4 separate regions of the Homo sapiens genome follow, and regions 1, 3 and 4 are each linked to region 2. The links are contacts of gene promoters, found by promoter capture Hi-C in blood cells and fetal thymus (Javierre and others, 2016). All regions are on one chromosome and are shown on one strand. Each heading gives the region's core, a stretch centred on a gene start or on the middle of the fragment in contact. The rest is flanking DNA. Distances are from core to core; before and after follow the strand shown. Region 1 overlaps EPB41 (erythrocyte membrane protein band 4.1). Region 2 holds the start of OPRD1 (opioid receptor delta 1). Region 3 overlaps EPB41 (erythrocyte membrane protein band 4.1). Region 4 overlaps EPB41 (erythrocyte membrane protein band 4.1).

Region 1 (2,700 bases), core at 160-2,659, 210 kb before region 2:
GGGATTACAGGTGTGAGCCACCACGCTCGGCCTTTAATTTATTTATTTTTAGATGAAGTCTTACTTTGTCACCCAGGCTAGAGTGCAGTGGCATGATCTCGGCTCACTGCAACCTCCGCCTCCTGGGTTCAAGCAATTCTCCTGCCTCAGCCTCCAGAGTAGTTGGGACTACAGGTGCGCGCCACCATGCCCAGCTAATTTTTGTATTTTCAGTAGAGATGGGGTTTCACCATGTTGGCTAGGATGGTCTCAATCTCTTGACCTCGTGATCCACCTGCCTTGGCCTCCCAAAATGCTGGGATTACAGGTGTGAGCCACCGTGCCCAGCCAAGAATTATTATTATCATAGCAGATATTTGAACTCTCACTATATACTGTCATTGTACTAATCACTTTATATAAATTTTCTGATTTAACAATTAGAAAATTCACATTATTGCCCTTATTTTTCAGATGAAAAAACTGAAGCTTAGAGAGCTTAAGTAACTTACCAAGAGGCACACAGTTAACAAGGAATGGAGTCTGAATTTAAAGAAAGGCTAACTCCAGAGCCCAAGATTTTAACTATGGTGCCCTATTGCCCCAACTCAGTGGTTCTCAAACTTTTTTGATCTCAGGACCTCTTTATTCTCTTAACAATTATTGTAAAAATTATTGAGGACCCTAAAGAGCTTTTCTTTCTTTTTTCTTTTTTTTGAGACGGAGTTTTGCTTTTGTTGCCCAGGCTGGAGTACAATGGCATGATCTCGGTTCACTGCAACCTCTGCCTCCCGAGTTCAAGCGATTCTCCTGCCTCAGCCTCCTGAGGAGCTGGGATTACAGGCATGTGCTACCATGCCCGGCTGATTTTGTATTTTTAGTAGAGATGGGGTTTCTCCATGTTGGTCAGGCTGGTCTTGAACTCCCGACCTCAGGTGATCTGGCTGCCTTGGCCCCCCAAAGTGCTGGGATTACAGGCATGAGCCACTGTGCCCGGTCAAGAGCTTTTCTTTATGTGGCTTATAGCTATTTGTATTCACTATATTAAAATTGTTTTAACTAAGGAAAATTTAAAATGTTTATTAAATTTCTAAAAAGTAACAGTAATCCAGCCAAGCACGGTGGCTTACGTCTGTAATCCCAGCACCTTAGCAGGCCAAGGCAGGCAGATCACCTGAGGTCAGGAGTTCAGGACCAGCCTGGCCAACATGGTGAAACCCTGTCTCTGCTAAAAATACAAAAGTTAGCCAAGTGTGGTGGCAGGCACTTGTAATCCTAGCTACTCGGGAGGCTGAGGCACGAGAATCACTTGAACCAAGCAGGCGGAGATTGCAGTGAGCCGAGATCACACTATTGCACTCCAGCCTGGGCGACAAGAGTGAAACTCCATTTCAAAATAAAATAAAATAATGGTAATCCCATTACTTTTTAACATAAATAACATAATTTCTGAAAAATACCAATATTTTCTGAAACAGTGATGAAAAGGTAACTTTGCTTTACATATTTACAAATCTCTTCAATGTCTGGCATAGAAGACAGCTGAATTCTCCCAACTGCTTCTGCATTCAATCTGTTGCAATATATTGATTTGGCAGTATGTGAAGAAATCTGATCTCACACAGACATGTAGTTTGAAAAGGGGTGACTATGAATTTAAAACACTCTTTTTTCTTTTTTTTTGAGATGGAGTCTTGCTCTTGTCGCCCAGGCTGTAGTGCAATGGCACGATCTTGGCTCACTGCAACCACCGCCTCCCAGGTTAAAGTGATTCTCCTGCCTCAGCCTCCCAAGTAGCTGGGATTACAGGTGCCCACCACCATGCCTGGCTAATTTTTGTATTTTTAGTAGAGACAGGGTTTCACCATATTGGCCAGGCTGGTCTCAAACTCCTGACCTTGTGATCCGCCTGCCTCGGCCTCCCAAAGTGCTGGGATTACAGGCATGAGCCACTGCGCCTGGCCTAAAATATTCTTTTCTGGTATTACACTAAAACTTATCAATGGCAGTTTCTTTTTTTTTTTTTTTTTTTATTATATCAATGGCAGTTTCTTAAAGATAATTTTCAATGTGAAATGTAGAAACTTATCAATGAACTTTTTGTACTGTTACATTAAAATCCATTGGTCTATCTTGCATTTTGAATGGATCTTTTACCTGTGCATGATTTTTTTAACATTGTGCATTTCTAATCTGAAAAATACTTGTTCACCAAGTTATGAAAATCTTCCAAACCTTGATATAATATGTGTATAAAAAAACACATTCATTAAAATAACCACTGACCTTAGCAGAAAAGTCTTTAAAAGCTGTCAAGATCATGGGGATATATAAAAGTTTTCCAAAATTCCAATTTTTACCAGAAAGCTTGAATTTTGTCATTAGCAACAAATACTGTCAGTTGCTTTCCTAAAAGTACTAGCTCATTTCATTTTTGAGAAAATGTGTGTCAAATAACCGAGTCCGAATAATCATAGTTTGTCATTTTTTCAAGAAAACATGGTGTTTTATAGAAAAGATGGCCACCGGGCGCGATGGCTCATGCCTGTAATCCCAGCACTTTGGGAGGCCCAGGCGGGCGGATCACGAGGTCAGGAGATTGAGACCATCCTGGCTAACACGGTGAAACCTTGTCTCTACTAAATATACAAAAAATTAGCTAGGCGTGGTGGCTGGCGCTTGTAGTCCCAGATACTCAGGAGGCCGAGGCAGGAGAATGAT
Region 2 (2,700 bases), core at 189-2,688:
TGTATCAGGAGGGCTACTTCTGGGGCAAGCTGACGTCTTAGGCTCTCTGAGAAGGTCCCAGCACTCTCCATAAACTCCAAGAAGAGCACCTCACTTCCTGGGATGAAAACTCAAAATCCACTCCCGCCCAGACCAACCTCTGCTGCCTCTGGCAGAAGAAAAGACTGTTAGAGGAGGCAAAGAGAAAATGGGAGAGGGCATTTGTGAGGAGGGCGTGAGTCTTCTCTGAATCCTATTCAGAATTCCTGACCAGATGGGCACTGGCGAAGGGAACAGAGAACCGGTTGGCGGCCCACAGCTGTCGCCCATGTTATCCAGGAATCACTGGCAAAGGCACACACAGCTGCACAAACACAGGGACGACGGCCACTCCGGATGCTCTGCCGCCCTCGGGGTTTCAAGAGCTTGACAAGAAACAACAGTCACATTGTTACATTCAGACAGAATCACAAACTGACCGTTAGGGACAAGCTCACACCAACAGATGAGCACCAAATATGACTTGGTAAGGGCCCCACGGCGAGGTGCTGACACCCAGCACCCTCCTGTCCGCCCTGCCTGCACGGTGCCCTCACACCGGTCTCCCCAAAGGCCCGCGGCACCTCAGAGCAGCTCTGCCCACCCCATGGGCATGTTTCCGACGTCCAAACATACAGTTGTACTGTCACAACCATCCACTCACAAACTGTGACAGACACACAAACTGACGCCAAACTGTCCCACAAAGAAGCAAGGGGATGCCAACAGATGATCAAATGTAATTTAGTCAACCGCGGCGCACTCCCCCCCCCGCACCACACACACACATACACACGATGACACACATTCCTGTGTTCCCCTCGATGTAAGTGGCCTCGCCTCTCGCTGGGCCCCAGGTGCCCCTGCAGGAAATGCGGAGGCGCGGGGAGTCCAGGGAACGGGCTTGGGGTCTCAAGTTCGTGATCCCCACCCTCACCCCGGGCTCCAGCCCTGCGGCGCCGGCCCGCAGCGGACTCACCGGACGATGCCGAACATGACAAGCACGTTGCCCAGCAGCCCCACGGCGCACACGGCCGAGTAGAGCGCGGTGATGGCGATTGCCAGGGCGAGGGACGAGGCGCTCCGCGCGCCTGGCGGCCCCGACGCATTGGCGCCAGCGCTGGGGCAGGCGCTAGGGTAGGCGTCCGAGGCGTTGGCGAAGAGCGGGGGCTGCAGCTCGGCGCCGGCGGAGGGGGCCGGTTCCATGGCTGCCGGCCGGCTCCGCCGCGTCCCTCTCCACCGTGCGCCCTGGGCGCGGGGATCCGACGCGAGGGGAGCGGCAAGGCAGAGGCCGCGGCCCCGACGCCGCCGGCTGCCGCGCCCCGGCCGCCCCGCTGTCTCTGCGCCTCGTCCGCCTGCCTCGCCGCCCGCACCGGCCCAGCCCCCGGCGTCCGCCCGCTCTCCTCGCCCGGAGCGCTGTGAGCCAGGAGCAGCCGCAGGCTCCTCGGACGCGCCCGCCGCGCGCACCACGTGGCCCGGAGGCGGCCGCCAGTCTGCGCCCGCGACCGGGGGCGGACGCTGCACCACCGGCTCGGAGCTGGGCAGGGGAGGCCTCCCGCCCCCTCCCTAGGGATGCTCCGCCGGCTCGAGTGCGACCCCGTCCCAACCTGGACTCCCCTCCCACCCCCTTGCCACTTTGGTGTCAGAGGGACCTGGGTGTGGATCCCGCCTCCCGCCCCTGCACTAACAGGCGGAGTGACCTTGTGTAAGTCACTTAACCTCCCTCAGCTTCATTCTCTTTGTCTGTGAGATGAGGAAAATCGTACCACCTCCCTCAGAGGGTGGTTGGGGAGATTGAATAAAATGATTCGAACAAAGAGCTTAGAGCAGTGCCCTGCGGACAGTTACATGCTCCGTAAATAACCTATATTATCCGTGCCTTTCTTGCACCCCATTCATTCGCTCAACAAAAATTCTGAGGGTGCCTAATAGAAGAGCCGGGTATTTGGGGGGACCCTCTAGTACACAAAACCAGATGCAGCCTCTGCTTCCTGGGGCTTACAGCCCAGTGCAGGAGAGAGAGCGAGCAACCCTAAAATGACATTAAGATATAGGTACGAATTGAGAAAGTGGCAGGGTCTACAAAACCCAGGGGTCAGGACAGCTTCCCTGGGGAAACGACACTTGAGGTGAGGTGTGAAGTTTGGGGAAGAACTAACTTAAGGAAGTAACAAGGGAAGAGGATTCCGGATAAAGGAAGCAGAGGGACTGAAAGGAAGCCAGGAAGAGGAGAAGGCAGGAAGTGAGGGGGCGATGAGGTGGTGGGCAGGCTCTTGAAGACCACCTTAAGGAGCACTCTGGCTGCAGTGCGAGCAGATAGAAGGGGGGCACTTGGCTAAGTCATCCTTGCCACACCCCTTCCAAGACCTAACCATTCCAGATTAGAGCCATCCTTCTTCTTGGGGTGCCTAGCCTTTCCAGAACATTCTACCAAGCATTACTTTGCTCCAGGCACTGTGATAAGCACTTTATCCATGCACCAACACTTTGGTGTAGCTTCTATTATTATTGTCCCCATGTTACAGATTTAGTGCTCAGCACTAAATTATCCCATATAGTAATTATTTCTATCCGAACTGGTCTCCCTCCTTAAAGGGACCAGGTCTGATTGACCCCTGCATCCAGGAGAGGGCTGGGGTCACAGCAGGTGCTCAAGAAATACTTTTTGGATAATAAAGATCC
Region 3 (2,700 bases), core at 73-2,572, 250 kb before region 2:
AGGTTTTAACTAAATAAAACTTTTTCAAAAGCAATGTCAAAGGGAAAACAGCATAAGAAGAATAATCAGTGAGACGATTTTGATTCTGTAGATATTCATTCAGAAAATTCATTAGTCTATTCTTTTTATTTTTGCAAGACTGAACCATGTATACCTGCTTTGAGATCAAACAGAAAGCTAACTCCAAAAGGGCAATCCTATAGCTATCCCAGAAGAGCATGTTTTGCTTGCTGGGATGAAATGTGAATATATTTTATGAATATGGACTTCACTATGGGGGAAACAACAGTTTGCACTTTTCTTCTGGCTGAAAGCAAGAAAAGCATGTCTAGTAGCTAAAGAAAAGCATGAACAAGCCCATTCAAAGACCCAGTATTGGACTGAGCAACCAGACCCACCAGGCATGTAAGGTCCTGTGACCCAGCTCCTCACTGGAAATTAAAATCTGTTTGGGCCAAGAACAACCTAATACATTTGGGAGGGTTAAAGGTGTGAATAGAGCAAAACAAAAATAAGCAAGAGATGCTATGTAAAATGATAACTCTCTTAGTTAACCTCTTAATGTAAGAGACTTGTAATTTGCTACTCTTCTTGCCTAGCTTCGGATTGGCTTGGAACCTGGGAAAATAAATGTTTTGGTAAAACCAGTAGCTTCTGAGGGAGCTTTCTCCATCCTTCTTAGCTGGCTTTGTTGAAAACCTGTGGGGGCACAGAGTAAAATTAAGATCTCAAAGGGACCTGTTCCAAATAGAATTTGTCATAGACAACTTGCTACAGGTTCTCTCTGGGAGATGGAGGAGGAGGCGGTAGATCTAAAAATGAACTCGACCTTATTTGTGCCAGAACAAAGCATTAGTGGGGGCGGGGTAGGAGAAGGGGGAGGAGGGATGCTTAAAAAAAAAAAAACCTGCTGGAGTGACAGATAACTTGAGAGAACTTCCTTACAGGGGAAAAAACTTCTAAAGAATGATGGCCAAATTACTTTGGCTGTGTTCAGGTTAGACACTTTTTGATGCCTATCACTTCATAATTTTAGCAGCAATCAAACCAAACACTTCATTAAATATAAAATGTTCTCAAAAGGCAGTTAGTGGTTTTAATTTCCAAACACACTTATTTAGAAATCCCCTCTCAGGGCTGTCAATGAAATGCTGAGGGAAAAACACATCACACACAGGGACTTTGTGAGTCTCAGAAGCCATAACACACCTCATGGAACAAATGACAAATATATGATTGGTACTGCAGGTTCCAGTTAAGAGGAAGCACTGAAGACGAACTAGTCAGGAAATATGCATGTTTAGAATTTCAAGATGTTACACTGCCAAATAAAGGAAATCAACTGACCTTCACTATTCTTCCTAGTCTCTGAAGATGGAACTACTCAGGTCTGGTTTCAGATATGGGCTAAAACAAAGAGATCCAGTTGCCAAGTTTGAAATATCTGAGGGTCCAGCCTCGAAAAACTTCATGTTAAATGAGACAAAGATATGTAAAGCACTTGGTATTTCACCCACCACGCAATACATGTTTAATGAAGGCTGGGCATATTTTTTTCTCAGAGACTTTATACATAACAAGTACTCAAAATACAGGTATTGACAAGGAATAAGATGAGGTTTAAATAATTATTAGAGGCTATATATTAAGCCAGAGGTCTATCTAGTTTTTAAAGTTTAGGTTGGGTCCAGTGGCTCATGCCTGTAACCCCGGTACTTTGGGAGGCTAAGGCAGAAGGATCACTTGAGTCCAGGAGTTTAAGACCAGCCTGGGCAACATACTGAGATCCTGTCTCTACCAAAAATTTAAAAATTAGCTGGGCATTGTGGCATGCACCCATAGCCCCAGCTATTCAGGAGATTGAGATGGGAGGATTGCTTGAGCCCAGGAGGCTGAGAGTGCAGTAAGCAGTGATTGAGCCACTGCACTCCAGCCTGGGTAACACTGTGAGACCCGCCTCAAAAAAAAAAAAAAAAAAAAAAAAAACAAAGGCCAGGCGCAGTGGCTCACGCCTGTAACCCCAGCACTTTGGGAGGCCAAGGTGGGCGAATCACGAGGTCAGGAGATCCAGACCATCCTGGCTAACACAGTGAAACCCCGTCTCTACTAAAAATACAAAAAAATTAGCCAGACAGGTGGCGGGCGCCTGTAGTCCCAGCTACTTGGGAAGCTGAGGCAGCAGAATGGCGTGAACCCGGGAAGCGGAGCTTGCAGTAAGCTGAGATCACGCCACTACACTCTAGCCTGGCCGACAGAGCGAGACTCTGTCTCAAAAATAAAATAAAATAAAATAAAAATTTTATATATATATGACCAATGTTGAATATAATGGGAAAATAATCTTACAACTCCTATAGCAGACAGCATGTTGCTATTTCAGAGTGCAAAACAGTGTAGTTTAATAGAGTTGGACAGATCCTAACTCACATCTTGGCTTTCCAGTTCTGGGACTACAGGGAAATTACTTAATCTCTTTGAGGTTCAATTTTGTCATCTTTAAAATAACAATCCCATACCCACAGGCCTGTTTTTATGATTAAACCATCTTATAGTAACTACTTATTAAATGCTAGGCTCCCCTCTTTCCTTCTTATATCTTACTTCCCGCCCCTCCCCGACAGTTCTTCTGTCATTTTTCTATTATCTCCAATATTTTAAGTCCATTCTGAATTCCCTTCTTTTTCACACTCTCTTAATTCA
Region 4 (2,700 bases), core at 186-2,685, 230 kb before region 2:
CAACATTACAAAAGGAAAATTATAGGCCTATCTCTCTTATGAAAATAGTTGTAGAAATCCTAAAACAATAAAAAAGAAAAGAGTATTACGACCAATTCGAACTTACTCCAAAAATTCTTAGGTCGTTTAAAAATTGAAAGTAAAAATAATATACCACATTAACATAAAAAGGAGAAAAATCATTTTATTATATCAACTGATGAAGTAAAAAGCATTTGATAAAAGTAACACTAATTCACAATTAAAATGTGTAGGAAACTAGAATGACAACTTCCTTATATGATAAAGAAAATACCATATAAGGAAGCTTGATGAAATACTGAAGCTTTTGCCCTAAAATTGGGAAAGATGATAGTTATTAATGCTTGTATTCAGCATTACATTGGACGTTCTAGCCAGCAACAAAGCAATTAAAGAAATTAAAAATGCGAGATGGAAAGGAAGACATACAACAATCATTATTTTCAGTTGATGTTGAGTACACAATAATGTATACCCCAAATAATCCACAGATAAACCATTAAAATTAATAATAAATTTTTTAGGGCTGGGTGTGGTGGCTCACGCTTGTAATCCCAGCACTTTGGGAGGCCGAGGTGGGTGGATCACGAGGTCAGGAGTTCGAGAACAGCCTGACCAACAGGGTGAAACCTCGTCTCTACTAAAAATACAAAAAATTAGCCGGGCATGGTGGTGGCGTGCACCTGTAATCCCAGCTACTCAGGAGGCTGAGGCAGGAGAGTCACTTGAACCCAGGAGGCAGAGGTTGCAGTGAGCCGAGATAGTGCCACTGCACTCCAGTCTGAGTGACAGAGTGAGACTCTGTCTCAAAAAAAAAATAAAATTAAATTAAAAAAAAATTTTTTTAGTAAGATTACTGAGTATAAGGTCAAACTAGAAAAATTAATTGTATTTCTATGTACCAAAACAATTGAACAAAAAATAAAAAATTTAGGATACCATTTATTTTATTTTGTTTTATTTTATTTTATTTTAGAGACAGGGTCTCACTCTGTTGCCCAGGCTGCAGTGCAGTGGCACAAGCACAGCTCACTGCAGCCTTAACCTCCTAGGCTGAAGTGATCCTCCTGCCTCAGCCTTCCATGTAGTTGGGACCACAGGTGTGCACTACCATGCTCAGCTAATTTTTTTTTTTTTTTTTTTAGAGACAGGGTCTTGCCATGTTGCCCAGGCTGGTCTTGAACTCTCAGACTCAAGCGATCCTCCCACCTTGGCCTCCCAAAGTACTGGGATTATAGGCATGAGGCACTGCAACCAGCCAAAAACCAAAAGATACCATTTAAGATAGCAAACGATGGCTGGGTGTGGTGGCTCACTCTTGTAATCCTAGCACTTTGGGGAGCCAAGGTGGGAGGATTGCCTGAGCCTGGGAATTTGAGACCAGCCTGGGCAACATGGCAAGACCCTGTCTCTAAAAAAAAAAAAAAAAATTAGCTGGGCATGGTGGCATGCACCTGTAGTCCTAGCTACTTGTGAGGCTGAGGTGGGAGGATCACCTGGGCCTGGGAGACTGAGGCTGCAGTGACTTGTGATCGCTCCATCGCACTCCAGCCTGGATGACAGAGTGAGACCCTATCTAATAATATTAATATAAAATAGCAAATGACATCAAATCTGTAAGAATAAATCTAATGAAAGATGCACAAGTTACCTACACCAAAAATCACAAAACATTACTGAGAGAAATTAAAGGAAACCCAAACAAAAGGAGGGTTATAGCATGTTTGTGAATCAGAAGACTCAATATTATAATACCAATTATCTCCAAACTGATCCATATAATCAACTAAATCCCAATAAAAGTATTAAGACTTTTTTAGTGGAAATAGAAAATCTGATTCTACAATATATAAGATAACGCTAAGGGCTAAAAATAGCCAAGATAATCTTAGAGAATATTGTTAGAGAATTTAAACACTTATAAAAGCTAGAATAATTAAGATAGTGTGGTATTGACACAAGGGTACACAAAGATCAATACAAGAGATTAGAGAGACCAGAAATGAACTCCCAAATTTATGGTCACCTGATTTATAACAAAGGTGACACTGGAATGCAGTAGGGAAAGAATGGTATTTTATTTTATTTTATTGTTATTTTTGAGACGGAGTCTCACTCTGTCATCCAGGCTGGAGTGCAGGCGCGATCTCAGCTCACTGCAACTTCTGCCTCCTGGGGTCAAGCGATTCTCCTGCCTCAGCGTCCTGAGTAGCTGGGAATTCAGGCATGTGCCACCATGCCCAGCTAACTGGCTAATATTTTTGTATTTTTAGTAGAGACAGGGTTTCAACATGTCAGCCTGGTTGGTCTCGAACTCCTGACCTCAAATGATCCGCCCGCCTCAGCCTCCCAAAGTGCTGGGATTACAGGTGTGAGCCACCACATCCAGCCAATATTTATTTATTAAATACACTGTAGCAAGAACTGTGGTAATTACCATGAAAAGTTAAGACCATACATCTTAAAAAAAAATTCAGAATATAAATGTAATAAGGCAGTCAAGATGTGATTTCTGTAAAGCTTTCTAACTTGTTCAAGGTACCAAAGCTCATTAACACTTGACTCTTTGGTTATCTTTGCTATCAGGAAAAGACAATACATCAGGCATAGTATCTATATAACCATGAAACTCCATTTAGCAAGGAAAGCCATGGAACATGCTATCAGACAGACCTGGAT

Evidence for each region. The method cuts DNA at HindIII sites, captures the fragments that hold promoters and counts their contacts. A CHiCAGO score of 5 or more calls a contact.
Region 1: a contact is called between a fragment that was not itself captured here and the fragment with the promoter of OPRD1 in region 2, in 1 of 17 cell types (megakaryocytes). The highest score is 5.1, in megakaryocytes.
Region 3: a contact is called between a fragment that was not itself captured here and the fragment with the promoter of OPRD1 in region 2, in 8 of 17 cell types (megakaryocytes, M1 macrophages, naive CD8 T cells and 5 more). The highest score is 6.6, in megakaryocytes.
Region 4: a contact is called between a fragment that was not itself captured here and the fragment with the promoter of OPRD1 in region 2, in 4 of 17 cell types (total B cells, M0 macrophages, M2 macrophages and 1 more). The highest score is 6.0, in total B cells.

The regions. Positions count from the first base shown.
Region 1 is chr1:29,021,684-29,024,383 of GRCh38, reverse strand. All of the region lies in intron 7 of EPB41 (erythrocyte membrane protein band 4.1), which reads right to left. Among named protein-coding and RNA genes, the nearest start is that of TMEM200B, 100 kb to the left of the region's middle. The HindIII fragment of the contact is 1,878 bases long and covers 471-2,348 here.
Region 2 is chr1:28,810,908-28,813,607 of GRCh38, reverse strand. It overlaps OPRD1 (opioid receptor delta 1), which reads right to left and starts at 1,438. Exons shown (of 3, transcript NM_000911.4): 1 at 998-1,438. The coding sequence starts at 1,224. The HindIII fragment of the contact is 20,164 bases long and covers 1-2,700 here.
Region 3 is chr1:29,060,859-29,063,558 of GRCh38, reverse strand. The region is part of intron 15 of EPB41 (erythrocyte membrane protein band 4.1); the gene reads right to left. Among named protein-coding and RNA genes, the nearest start is that of TMEM200B, 62 kb to the left of the region's middle. The HindIII fragment of the contact is 3,472 bases long and covers 1-2,700 here.
Region 4 is chr1:29,044,272-29,046,971 of GRCh38, reverse strand. The region is part of intron 11 of EPB41 (erythrocyte membrane protein band 4.1); the gene reads right to left. Among named protein-coding and RNA genes, the nearest start is that of TMEM200B, 78 kb to the left of the region's middle. The HindIII fragment of the contact is 2,216 bases long and covers 328-2,543 here.